2 separate regions of the Homo sapiens genome follow, and region 2 is linked to region 1. Evidence: promoter capture Hi-C in human tissues and cell types (Jung and others, 2019). All regions are on one chromosome and are shown on one strand. The core of a region is centred on a gene start or on the middle of the fragment in contact, and the rest is flanking DNA. Distances in the headings are between cores, read along the strand shown. Region 1 holds the start of WFDC3 (WAP four-disulfide core domain 3). Region 2 overlaps STK4 (serine/threonine kinase 4).

Region 1 (3,895 bases), core at 319-2,818:
TGGGATTACAGGCGTGAGCCACCGCGCCCGGCCAATTTTTTGTTATTTTTAGTAGAGACGGGGTTTCTCCATGTTGGTCAGGCTGTTCTGGAAGTCCCGACCTCAGGTGATCCACCCACCTCAGCCTCCCAAAGTGCTGGGATTACAGGCGTGAGCCACCGCGCCCGGCCCAAAGTGTTTTTATGAAATATAATACTTATACAGAAAAGTCTATACACTTTAATGAGTAATTATAGTGAACATCCATTTCACCACTATCAGCATCCCAAAGGCCCACCTTGTGCTCTCTCCCTTCCCTGACATGCATACTATTAATCCCTCTTTATAGTTGAGAAAACGGGCTCATCAGAGTCTGTTGATGAGAACACAGTTGTCTGACTCCAGAGCCTGTTCTCTTAAACTCCATGCTAACTGACCTCTTTAGAGCCCTCAACCACAGAGCCAGTGAATGTGAGGGATCTTAGGTATTGTTTATTCCACAACCCATCTCCTGTGCCCTTCCCCATTTTGTACGTGAGTTCAGAGAAGGAAGTGACTTGACTAGTTCAAGATCACACAGAGTTACAGAATCGGAGTCTCCTCTTCCTCAGTCCTGTGCTCTTTCTACCGGCTGTAGATCTCCATAGCCTTGTGCACTGGGGATCCCAAATCTGCCATGCAAGCCAGTGGCTGGGATATAAGCCCCATGCAGGGCCAGCCTTACCTTGTTGTCATCTGTGAGCGGCGGCCCCTCCGCTGCACCTGCCGGTGCTTTATCATTATGTTCCAAGGGTTCTGTGGGGACCAACGGAACAAATGTCACTGCGGCCTGTGACACTGGGGTGGGGTGGAGGTGGAGGGTGGGTATGAAGTTAAACCTGGACATCCCTGCTTCTCAGATCCGTCACCATCTCTCCCGCCTTGGGGTGGGACGATAGTTGTAAGGCCTCCTCCACAAAAGAGGAACTGAGGAAGTTTCCTGCCTTAAAAGTCCCGACCCTGCCTTCTGGCACGGCAGGAGGAAGGGAAGCAGTATTTACCGAGGGTCAACTCTGTGTCAGGTGATGTCCGGGGCGTTGTACCCGCCTTTATCTTCCCATCCCACAACAAGTTTTATGAGACAGGTACTAATCATTTCCATTTTATAGAAGAGGATCCTGGGACTCAGGGGGTTGACAGAGATGGCCCACGTCACCTAGCTAGGAGGGCGGCACCAGAATTTAAATCCAGGTCGTCGGGCTGCGAAAACGCCAACCCCCTCTGCAGCTCCAGCCTCCGCGTTCTCTCGCCCGCGGGCCAGGGTCCCAGGAGCCCCGAGGCCGTGCCCGGCCTGAGCCCAGACCTCACCGGGGGCGCCCTCACCGTAAGAACCAGCTGCCCCGCTGCGCCCGCATCCCCCAGCTCCAAGCCGCCCCTCTCGGCCCCGCTAGGTCCCCGCGGCTGCTCGGCGTCGCCAGTGGCTCCCATGGCGCCCCCGGCCCCCACAACTCCGCTGGACTCTGTCACCGGCCGGAAAGTGGCGCCGTGACGTCACTGGAGCGCGCTGCTCGTCCGCCCGGAAGCGCGACGCTGGAGCTGCGGGGTTACCATGGGAACCGAACCGCCGCGCCTCGCCCAGGACAGTTACACTTAGAGGCCTTGTAGGTGGAGGTCGTTGGGGCTTCCTCTCGGGAGGGCTGCGCCTCGATTGTGCAGTGTGGGTGTTCAGTGGCGGTTCAGTCAAGGGATGTTTCCCGCTGGGCCAAGGCCTGGGGATGACTGCGGGGTAGGAGGAAGGGACCAGTTTTCTGTAGGCTGGGGTTGGGGAGCAGAGGGAAGCGTTTGGTACAGCGGCGCCTGCAGTTCAGTTTTTGAAAACTAGATTTTAATATGCTCGGCCAGGGGCGGTGGCTCACGCCTGTAATCCCAGCACTTTGGGAGGCCGAGGCGGGAGGATCACTTGCCATCAGGAGTTCGAGACCAGCCTGGCCAACATGGCGAAACCCCGTCTCTACTAAAAATATAAAAATTAGCCGGGCGTGGTGGTGGGCACCTGTAATCCCAGCTACTCGGGAGGCTGAGGCAGGAGAGTCTCTTGAACCCAGGAGGCGGAGGTTGCAGTGAGCCGAGATCACGCCACTGCACTCCAGCCTGGGCGACAGAGGGAGACTGTCTCAAAAAAAAAAAAAAAAAAAGCACATTAGGCACATGTTAGGTCATCATCAAATGTTAATTATGCCGAGATCGCGCCACTGCATTCCAGCCTGGGGGACAGAGGGAGACTCTGTCTCAAAAAAAAAAAAAAAAAAAAAAAAAAAAGCATATTAGGCACATATGAGGTCATCATCAAATGTTAATTATCTCCATGAGCCAACATCAGCCTTCTAACCATAAGGGCGACTTCCTGGCTCCAAACTTTTTGATCCTATTAAGGAGGTTTTACCTTGTACCTGCCCATAGGACTAAGCAGTGCCAGTGGACACCATTAGGTATCACAGCTAACCAAAGGCATGACCAGGACAGATAAAGAAAAAAAGAAATGGAGAAAAAAGAAATAAAGGAGGTATATGTGGGCAGACTATTTGAGTCATACATAGCAACTTCTCTTGGGTTCTGCCAGCTAGACTTCATACAGTCCAAGAATGGCCTGTGTGGGTTAGAGGGACAAAGATGTAGGTGTTTGGTGCTTTTCATTAGTTCTTAACAAACTCAACTACTGCTTTTCTGTAGGTTTTTGATAGTTTCTTTTCTCTCTTTTTTTTTTTTTTGAGACAGAGTCTCACTCTGTTACCCAAGCTGGAGTGCAGTGGCATGATCTCCACTCACTGCAACCTCTGCCTCCTGGGTTCAAGCTATTCTCCTGCCTCAGCCTCCCACGTAGCTGGGATTACAGGCATGCACCAGCATGCCCAGCTGATTTTTGTATTTTTAGTAGAGACAGGGTTTCGCCATGTTGGCCAGGCTGGTCTCAAACTCCTGACCTCAGGTGATCTGCCCGCCTTGGCCTATTTGATAGTTTCTGAGTGGTCTGTTCCATTCTGTATTTTCTTGGTTGCTAGGATGAACAGGAGCCACAATTTTATTATGCTTGGTTATGTTATTAGCTTTGGCCATTAAGTAGTGTCGTGAATCCCTCCCTCTGTTATTTGGGCTAAAGCCATGTCCTTCCAATGCCCTTTAGGGCTCTCTTTGATTCTTTTTCCAATGGCCACCCCTCCATTTTTCCAGCCACCCACTAGGTTTCTCATCATCCAGGAATATTGTGTATATTGCTTACAGAATTTGATCCTCCCATCACAGGTCCCCTTTGGTAGTGCCAGGAATTTTCCCACACTCCAGCAGCCAATCCCTCTTCTTCTTGTCAGGAGAAGATATTCTTGGGGAGTATTGTGAAAGGGAAGGTTTTGGGACTGGGTTTGGGGCCATCCCTAGTCCTGCTCATACCTCAGCTGATACTCTGGGCAAGGTGTACACCTCTAGCCTGAACTGAGCTCTTGTCCCAACTCTCAGCATCATCATGATGTTAAGCTGCCTCTTTCTTCTGAAGGCACTTCTTGCTCTTGGGTCTCTGGAATCCTGGATAACTGCAGGAGAACATGGTGAGCTATCATTTGGGATCCCTGGCCAACAGTAACAGAAAGTGACTAGAGGAGAGGAGAACTCATCCCCTGCCTTCTCCCAGAGCAAGGTTGCTTGTAAGTGGAGATGATCATCTCTATAGGACAGGACTGGATGAATAGATTCTCAGGATGGCCTGGGTCATTCTTCCTGGCTTTCTTTACCCTCTCTGGACAAGGAGATAGGACTTCCAGTTGGGCTTACTAGAGGTTCTAGCTTTTCCCTAGAACTCATTAAATGAGAACAGGATCATCCCACCCTTTCTCTCTCGTTATCTGCAGGATGGCTGCTCCTTTAGCAGTGGTGGATATATGTTAGT
Region 2 (4,005 bases), core at 307-2,806, 820 kb after region 1:
AGATTCCCAACTTTTTATCTGCCTTTGGGCAAATATGTTAATAATCATGTCAATAATCTGATGTCCTTTTAAAAATGTTATCTCCTCCTTGATCTTTTTGAAAATTGTAATTATATTAAATTGTTTTTGAGATTGCTTCATTATTTCTTTTTCCTTCAGTGTGAATTCTCCCATTCTGCTGATTATCTCATGGCAGTAGATTTCCTTGCATGGATTTCATTTTCTCTTGAATGATTTTCCTCTATACCACACTCACTGTCGATGATTTCATGGTTTTCTCAGTACAGTAGTCTGGGATATACAACTTAAACCAGGTCTTATATTCAGAGTTTGGGGTTTTTGCCCTTCAAGATACCATACTTAAATACAATCCAAGCTCAGTTCCTATTATCGAACCAGTATATCCATTTTTTCCCTAGGCCACAGGCAAATGACACTTTCTGGTTGTGGTCAGGCAAATTTATTTCAGCTTTAGTTCACAGATGGAGAGCCGAGTTCCAGCCCCCAACTTCATGCAGGAAGCTCAAATGCAATCTCCTGACAAGGATAAGGCATGCTTTAGTCTCCGCTGATTATTTAGATTTCTTTCCTATCCCTTGTCCATAGCTGTCTATATATCCTTATATTTAAAATAATTTTCACTCATTATTCTTATATATTAGAAAGTTCTCTTCATACACTCACTCAGCAATCTTGACCAGAACACTCTTCATACCTCCCTATGCATCCTGATAGCAAGGAAAACTCCAATAGCTCACATGAAGTTAAGATTCCTGATTCCATATACTGCATCTACAGTAATCTGAAGGCAGGGATAGGGGGTGGTTAGAAGATTTCAGCAATCATACTCACAAGCAAGTCCCTTAAAACTTGATTCCCTACAACAAAATGAGATGATTCAATGAATTACAACTGACAGCAGAGAATGGAGAAGTAGGTGTTTTACATAAGCCATGCAAGGCAAGGATCTATGTAGAAAAATGGAAATACCACAGTATCTGAGGCCAAATTAATCAGATACAAGTCTTAACAATAGCACTCATTTTTTATGAAACCATGGGCAAGATGCTTTTGTTATCATTCTATGATAAAAATTCAAATGAGTCAATGTGTACAACTTTAAGTAGAAGAAAAAAGGTGCTAGGCTCCACTTGAAAACACTTCCCAAGTGCTCTCCACTCATCCTGGTCTGGAGCTTTGGCTCTACTCTGCCACAGATCCATATGATCCTCATAACACAGAATGATTGCAGCCTCCAGAATCCAACAGTTTTTTTAGCCATAGCTCATTTCACAAGATACAAGTCAGTGAGAGTTCACAAACCATTCATCCTCCCGAACAATTTAAGAATAGCATTGGCCAGGCGTGGTGGCTCACATCTGTAATTCCAGCAATTTGGGAGGCTGAGGCAGGCAGATCACAAGATCACGAGATCAAGACCATCCTGGCCAATATGGTGAAACCCCATCTCTACTAAAATACAAAAAATAAGTCGGGCGTGGTGGTGTGTGCCTATAGTCCCAGCTACTCAGGAGGCTGAGGCAGGGGAATCGCTTGAACCTGGGAGGCGGAGGTTGCAGTGAGCCGAGATTGTGACATTGCACTCCAGCCTGGTGACAGAGCAAGACTTAATCTCAAAAAAAAAGAATAGCATTGTGTCACATGTTTGGAAAAGAAGTGCAGTGAAGGTCTTCCTTCAAAATATTCCTAGTTAAATGAGGCTTGCTTAGGTTCATTCAGTCAGAATAACAGAAATCCAAGAAATACCAGAAATCTGGTATTATTTAGAAGAACAATAAGGTGATAGTATGGGAAGAAAGATCTGAAGCTTTGTTTTCTCCCTGGTGATATCTTCATAGGGAAATTTCCACATTCCTTGCAGAAGACATCCATAGATCTAAAACGCAATTTGTCCAGGTGCAGTGGTTCACGTCTCTAATCCTAGCACTTTGGGAGGCTGAGGCAGGAGGATCACTTAAGGCCAAGAGTTCAAGACCAGCCTGGGCAACACAGTGAGACCTCGTCTCTACAAAAATAAATAAACAAACAAATAAATAAAATACAATTTAAAAAATCATAATTAGCTTATTTTTTGTTTACATTATATTTCTGATATATTCTCTGTCTATAGTCTTCCTTTGACATTCCACAAACCCAATCAGCTCAGAGCTACCTATAACAACACCTAAAAATACTTTAAGACTTGACATGATGAGGTCTTGAAAATGCTTCAGTTGATACATTTAAAATAGAATAGCAATAGTTGCCACTTACTGAACATTTATTATTGTGATAAGCACTATACTTTACCCCAATTACCTCAGGTAATAACACAACTCTATGAATTGATATATTATTATCCCAACTTTACAGATGAGGATTGTGAGCCTCCAAAATAGTAAGCAATTTGCTTAAGCCCACTTGTCTATTATGACCAGTAAACAGTAGAGCAAGGATTTTAACCCAGGTCAGCCTCACATTGTAGTAGTAAGAGCAAACTGTATTAGAAATGAGAGAAATAAGTTACATAGTCAATTATGCCTATCAGTCTTGAACTTATTCTAAGTATAACTTATGAGCATTGTTAGATTAAAGGTCACAGCCTTGCTGCCTTAGGGAAAATAGCAAGGATGGCAAGCTAAAGCTGAAAATGGCAGGCAACAGATGTAGAGGGACTGTCATTTCCCCATACCTTTAATGATGCCAGTCAACTGGCAGTCTTCAGATTCATCTTGGACTTGTCTTTTCACAGCACAGCTGGTGTGTCATTTTTACTTCCCTTCTCTGCTTGATTTCTTGCTGGATTCCAAAGAGTATTTTTCCAACTTACAAAAAGACGATGACTCATGTTTTTTACAAGGAGGTAAATCATAAAAAAACCATTTCATGTAATCCAGGATTGGGTTTAACGTTGTAAATCTGTCTCCTAACATAAAAAATACTAAACCCAAAAAATAATCTAATGACATAAAGGAAATTATTTTAAAGAGCATATAGTCATCAGTCAGTAGTTGTTTTTACAAGTTAGTATGTCAGGTCTTCCCTTGATCCAGAAATACTCCCAAGGGATTAAAAATACAGACACACACACACACAAACACGAGTGTGCGCTCGCACACACATAGCCTGTCTCTGAAAGACACACAAGAAGCCGCTACCCTTGGTGATTCTGGGTGGCTAAGAGACAGAGAGAGGTAGGAGGCAGTTTTTTTTTTTTTTTATTGTATGCGTCTTAATATTTTTTTAAATTTTGAATCATATGATTGTATCGCCTATTCAAAAATTAACAAGAAAAACTTAAGAAATGGTGTCATTAACATTTTAATTTCCTGGTCATTACAGAAGAAGGAATAAATACACAGGATTGAATTAAAATGATATATAAAAGTATAAAAATTATGTAAACTTAATTGTATCATGAAAGTCAATGATGGTCACTGCACATTACTAATATCATTTCATCAGTATTTTATAAACGCATTAACAAATCTGTGTTTCAGGAAATCCACTGGCTCCCAACCCAGGATTGTGGATCTCCTAAGTAGCTGTGAAGGTGGTGATAGTGCTTAATTTATTTACTATATTTCACAAAGGTGCAAATATTAAAATACTAAATTACATTGATTTTCATTGAAACAGTTATTGCATACCAATCAGAAATTATGAACAGCAAATTAAAAAGTTTCTTATAGAATTTTAATCTAATTAGTGCTATCTGTTAAGTAGATAAAATCATACAGATCCTACAAAAGAGAAAACAATAGATATTCTTCGTGTTAAAAAGACCAGGAATCACTAAATCTGTCTATAATAGGGATTGGAGTAAAGCGAAGAAGGACATCACAAGCTGTAAATTTACCTTCCACCCCACCTAGAACAATGCTGAAAGGTTCATATCCTTCTGCTTCTTCTGGGGCAGGAAAAAGACTGGGACCCAATGACCTACCTATAGTTTCTTTACACTCACCCTTCTCCAAGTTTCTCTAAGACATCAAATACTTCTTC

The links. Contacts are between HindIII fragments. The study calls those that stand out against the background at their distance.
Region 2: a contact is called between a fragment that was not itself captured here and the fragment with the promoter of WFDC3 in region 1, in 1 of the 25 tissues and cell types used here (hippocampus).

What each region holds. Positions count from the first base shown.
Region 1 is chr20:45,789,556-45,793,450 of GRCh38, reverse strand. It overlaps WFDC3 (WAP four-disulfide core domain 3), which reads left to right and starts at 1,568. Exons shown (of 7, transcript NM_080614.2): 1 at 1,568-1,619; 2 at 3,469-3,557. The coding sequence starts at 3,476. DNTTIP1 (deoxynucleotidyltransferase terminal interacting protein 1) reads right to left here and starts at 1,497. Exons shown (of 13, transcript NM_052951.3): 1 at 1,342-1,497; 2 at 704-774. The coding sequence starts at 1,446. RefSeq lists silencers at 795-934, 1,145-1,414. The HindIII fragment of the contact is 18,270 bases long and covers 1-3,895 here.
Region 2 is chr20:44,972,121-44,976,125 of GRCh38, reverse strand. STK4 (serine/threonine kinase 4) reads right to left here. Exons shown (of 11, transcript NM_006282.5): 2 at 3,968-4,005. Among named protein-coding and RNA genes, the nearest start is that of STK4, 7.6 kb to the right of the region's middle. The HindIII fragment of the contact is 3,126 bases long and covers 1-3,119 here.